2 separate regions of the Homo sapiens genome follow, and region 1 is linked to region 2. Evidence: promoter capture Hi-C in 16 types of primary human blood cells and fetal thymus (Javierre and others, 2016). All regions are on one chromosome and are shown on one strand. Each heading gives the region's core, a stretch centred on a gene start or on the middle of the fragment in contact. The rest is flanking DNA. Distances are from core to core; before and after follow the strand shown. Region 1 has its middle 14 kb from the start of DORIP1. Region 2 holds the start of FBXO33 (F-box protein 33).

Region 1 (2,700 bases), core at 58-2,557, 5.5 Mb after region 2:
CCATAATAAAAAGACTCCCAGTGAATAAAAGCCCTGGATTTTATAGTTTCACTGCTAAATTCTACCTAACATTTAAAGAACTAATATTAATCGTACTCAAACTATTCTGAAAAATAGAAGAGGAAAGACTACTTCCAAACTCATTCTATGAGGCCAGTATTACCCCGTTACCAAAACCAGACAACACCACATCAAAAAAAAGAAAACTATATGCCAATATCACTGATAAATATTGATGCAAAAATCCTCAACAAAATACTAGGAAAGCAAAATTGACAAAACATTAAAAAGGTCATTCATTACAGCCAAGTAGAGTTTGCCAAGGAATGCAAGGATAGTTCAACATATGTAGATCAATTAATGTGATACATTATATCAACACAATGAAGGACAAAAACCATATGATCATTTCAACTGATGCTGAAAAAGCATTTGATAAAATTCAACATCCCTTCAAGATTAAAAAAAAACCCTCAAAAAAATTGGAAATAGAAGGAACATACCTCAACAAAATAAAAGCCATATGTAACAAACCCATAGCTAGAATCATACTCAATGGGGAAAAACTGAAAGCCTTTCCTCTAAGATCAAGAACATGACAAGGATGCCCACTTTCACAACTTTTTTTCAACGTAGTACTGGAAGTCCTACCTAGAGCAATCAGAAAAGAAAGAAATGAAGGGGATCCAAATTGCAAATCAAGAGTTCAAATGATCCTTGCGTGCAGATGCTATGATCTTATATTTAGAAAAACCAAAGACTTTACAAAAAAATTATTAAAACTGATAAACAAATTCAGTAGTTGGAGGTTATAAAATCAACATACAAAATCAGCAGAAGCATTTCTATATGCCAACATTGAACAATCTGAAAAAGAAATCAAGAAAGCTGTCCCATTTACAATAGCTACAAATAAATACCCAGGAATTAAACAAAAAAGTGAAAAGCTTATACAATGAAAACTATTAAGACATTAATGCAAGAAATTGAAGAATAAACCAAAAAAATGGAAAGATATTTCATGTTCATGTATTGGAAGAATCAAAATCGTTAAAATGTCCATATTACTCGAAGCAATCTACAGATTCAGTGTAATCTCTATCAAAATACCAATGACCTTCCTTACAGAAATAGAATAAACAATCCTAAAATTTACATGGAACCACAAAAGACTCAGAATAGACAAACCTATTGTAAGCAAAAAAAAAAAAAAAAAAAAAAAAGTGGAGGAATCACATCACCTGCCTTTAAATAATCCTACAGAGCTATAGTAACCAAAACAACACGGTACTGTCATAAAAATACACACATAGATCAGTGGAACAGAATAAAGATCCCAGAGATAAATCCATACAGCTACAATAAACTCTTTTTTGACAAAACTGCCAAGAATGTACACTGGAGAAAGTACAATCTCTTTAATAAATGGTGCTGGGAGAACTTGATATCCACATGCAAAAGAATAAAACTAGATCCCTATCTCTCACCATCTACAAAAATCAAATCGAAATGGACTGAAGACTTAAATCTGAGACCTCAAACTATGAAATTACTACCAGAAAACACTAGGGAAACTCTCCAGGACATCAGACTGGGCATATTTGTTGAGTAAGCACAAGCACAGGCAACCAAACCAAACATGGACAAATGGGATCACATCAAGTTTAAAAGCTTCTGCACAGCAAAAGAAACAATCAAAAAAGTGAAGAGACAACCTACAGAGTGTGAGAAAATATATGCAAACTACTCATCTAACAATGGATTAATAACCAGTATATGGAACTCAAACAACTCTATAGGAAAAAAATCTAATAATCGGATTTAAAACTGGGCAAAAGACCTGACTAGATATTTCTCAAAAAATACTTACAAATGGCAATCAAGTATATAAAAAGGTGCTCTACATCTTTGATCATTAGAGAAATGCAAATCAAAACTACAGTAAGATGTCATCTCACCCCAGTTAAAAAGGCTTTTATGCAAAGTCAGGCAATAACAAATGCTGGTAAGAATGTGAAGAAAAGGGAACCCTCTTACATTGTTGGTGAGAATGTAAATTAGTACAACCACTATGGAGAACAGTTTGGAGGATCATTACAAAACTAAAAATAGGCCAGGCATGGGGAGAAGGGAGGCCGAGGCAGGTGTATCACTTGAGTCCAGGAGTCTGAGATGAGTCTGGTAAACATGGCGAAACCCATCTTTACAAAAAAAATACAAAAATTAGTTGAACATAGTGGTGCACAGCTGTAGTCCCAGTTACTAGGGAAGGTGCAGCAGGAGGATCGCTAGACCTCAGGGGGTGGAGGTTGCAGTAAGCCGAAATGGTACCACTGCACTCCAGCCTGAATGACAGGGTGGGACCCTGTCTCAAAAAAAAACAAAAGAAAGAAAGAAAAGAAACACTAAAAATAGAGCTACCATATGATCCAGCAATCCCACAGCTAGGTATATACCCCAAAGAAAGGAAATCAGTATACTGAAGAGATATCTGCACTCCCATGTTTGTTGCAGTACTATTCACAACACATCTTTTGCAAGATTCAGAAGCAACCTAAGTGTCCATCCATAGATGACTAGATAAAGAAAATGTGGTACATATACTCAATGGAGTATATTCAGCCATAAAAAAATGAGATCCTGTCATTTGCAACAACATGGATGGAACTAGAGATCATTATGTTAAGTAAAATAAGCCAG
Region 2 (2,700 bases), core at 180-2,679:
TTCTTCCCCAATCCCTTTAACAAACACTCCTCCTCCTCTTCGGGCCTTGTTCAGTTAGCCGAAACTATTTCTGGTAAGAAAATGGCTGTTACAAAATTTCTTTTAGGCAGCGTCCTATGAGTACCTACTCCTTCCCTCACCATGAACTATTTCTAACAGATTCAGAGTCAGAAAATCGTGTTATGTGTATGTTTTGTTTCTTCCAAGGCTCACCCACAGGCCTCACCCTCCCAGTCTTAACGCTCCCATATATAAAATGAAAAGTGACAGCGCCTGTCAGCTCCATCCCACGGCCACCAAGAGGATGAATGAGTGCCTGGAAGGCGCCAGAAGTGGTGTCTGTTAAACACCCCGTCCACCACTGTTTATAAAGTATCGTGATGAGTCCCGTTATGCCTTTCCGCTCAAGGAAACCGCCTAGTTAGAACCAACACTCTCCGTCACTGAGGAAGGCAACACTGAAGTTGGCCGGGCACGTATTATGCACAGAATCTGTGTCGGGGTGCGGGGACGGAGCGACCCCCCGTTACCGGGCGGGGCGGGGCTCAGGGCAAGCCTACCTGTTGTTCCGGATGCTGACCAGCACGCAAAGCACCAGCTCCAAGTAGGTGCGCAGCACTTCCAGCCAACGAGCTGAGAGCTGCAGGGCCTCGACTTCCTCCCCTCCAGTCCCGGTGTCCGCGCCACCTCCGTCCCCTGGGCCACCGCCGCTCAGATAGTTCTCGGCGGCGAATTCAACACGCAGCTCTCGCACGAACCAGCCGCACTTGCGCATGAGGAATTCCAGCCGAGGCTGCTCCGCGGGCGAGACGCGGAGGCAGATGCGGAGCTGGGGCCACAGGGCCGGATAGAAGAGGCACTCACGCCAGTGCGAGCAGGAGGCCGAGGCCCGCAGCCGGTCGGGCGCCGGCAGAAAAGAGAAGATGTGCACGATCAGCTCGCTGGGCAGCGACGCAGCGCCCGCCGCCTGCCCGCACAGAGCCATCCGGCCCCGCCGCCGGCTGCCGGCTCCCGGCCGCCCCCGCAGTACCCGGAGCAGCCCCCGCAGCCGTCGCAGCTGCTGCAGCCGCAGCCGCCGCCACCGCGCCACCCGGGCGGCCCCGGCTCGGGTTCGAGCTCCCGGCGGTCGGGGCTGCGGCACTGACAAGAACAACAACATCAATGACTAGGAAGAAGGGGGCGGAACCGTCGTGGGTCTCGGCGGAACCAAGTAGAACACAAGTTGTGGAGAGGGGGAAAGGCCTCTGCGGGCGTGGCCTGCCGGGAGCCAGCCTCTGTCTTCTCAAACTCTACTCACGTGCGTCCGAGGCCGGCACACTGAGTAACTGCACTGCCCTCGCTCGTAAACTTCAGCGGCCCGGAAGCCTCAAGGCGTACTGTAAGGAAAAGGCAGCCCTCCCTGCGCCGGTCGGCAGAGACAGAGAAGTGGTAGGAGCTGAGTTTGACGTCGCCGCTGGTGGGAGGAGTCCGGCGCGCACCGGCGCGACTTCCGGAAGAGGGGAGCGCCCGATTGCCTGTAGGGACGGGAGGCGCGGCACGTGATCTCTGACGCACGCAGGCCGCGGGGCGGGGCGGGGCTGGGCGGGGCGGGGCGGGGCGGGGCTGGGCGGGACTGGAACCGGCACTTGGCACCCCTTACGCCTTACGGTGGCCGCTGCGCCCAGTCACATCTGTAAGTCGGTTAATTTTGGCGCTCGGTCGATGGAGGTGGCGGTACTCTGGTTTAGTGCGAAAGGTCGTCACGCTTCTTTGTAAAACGTTTCTCAGTTTGGGCTGAGGACCCTGAGCCAAAGTGGCGGCATGCAGGGTCTTTCTCAGCCATCCCACCTGCCCAGAGTAGGGTTAAGAATTCCTGAGATTGCGCCGCTGAGAGGGAGCTGGCGGACGGGCGGGCTAACCCCGGCGGGCTGTGCCGGGAGGGGCGGTGTGGGGCGTGGCGGAGGCCGCGAATGGACCTGCCCCCTCGGTCCAACCACGCAGGTGGACTTCCGCGCACTCGCTGGTGTGTGGGGAAGCAGTGAGGACAGCGTCACCCTTTGGATTCAGAGGGAGAGAAAAAAATTGGCAAAGGGATCTGAGATCCGCAGGTTGTGACCAGCCTCTTCTCCAGGGCTTGAGGAAGGGTCTCTTTTCCCTGTGCTGAGATTTAAGGCTCTCGTTGAAAAGTTCACAGTAATGACAGAGCTTTGATTTTTTTTCTTTCTTCTTCTTCTTTTTTTGCCTGGTATCCCTAACTTAGATTTTCCAAACCATGTCCCTAACTTCACCACAGCCTACTGCAAAGTAAACTCTGGTTGCAAAGAGTGGTGAAGTCAGAAAAGATTAAGTGACTTTATGTAATAATCGAGGGTTGCTTTAGGGAGGCTGCCTCTTTATGTAATAATTGAGAGTTGCTTTAGGGAGGCTGTGATGTTGGAATAGCATCGTTCTTTTGTGGTAAACACCAAGACTTTTTGGACTTTTTTTTTTTTTTTTGGTTTTAAGGAGCGGAGAATTTAATAGGCAAGAAAGAAGGAAGAAGGCTGAAGGAAGAAGCTCCCCACTACAGAGACAGACGGAGGGGGCTCCCAAGACGAAAGAGGAGACCCCCATTCTAGATGTTCTTAACCCTTTGAGGGCAAAGCTCTCCGTTTAATGCCTTGCACATATCAGGTTGCCAACAACATGGTGTGGTTTATCAATTGTGATAGGTTACTTATT

What was found. The method cuts DNA at HindIII sites, captures the fragments that hold promoters and counts their contacts. A CHiCAGO score of 5 or more calls a contact.
Region 1: a contact is called between a fragment that was not itself captured here and the fragment with the promoter of FBXO33 in region 2, in 7 of 17 cell types (total B cells, non-activated CD4 T cells, total CD4 T cells and 4 more). The highest score is 14.4, in total B cells.

Annotation. Positions count from the first base shown.
Region 1 is chr14:44,882,189-44,884,888 of GRCh38, forward strand. No RefSeq gene overlaps it. Among named protein-coding and RNA genes, the nearest start is that of DORIP1, 14 kb to the right of the region's middle. The HindIII fragment of the contact is 724 bases long and covers 946-1,669 here.
Region 2 is chr14:39,431,004-39,433,703 of GRCh38, forward strand. It overlaps FBXO33 (F-box protein 33), which reads right to left and starts at 1,430. Exons shown (of 4, transcript NM_203301.4): 1 at 561-1,430. The coding sequence starts at 1,159. It overlaps LOC105370461 (a long non-coding RNA gene), which reads left to right and starts at 1,436. Exons shown (of 8, transcript XR_007064121.1): 1 at 1,436-1,516. RefSeq lists silencers at 419-548, 989-1,118, 1,859-2,028 and an enhancer at 1,219-1,468. The HindIII fragment of the contact is 7,836 bases long and covers 1-2,700 here.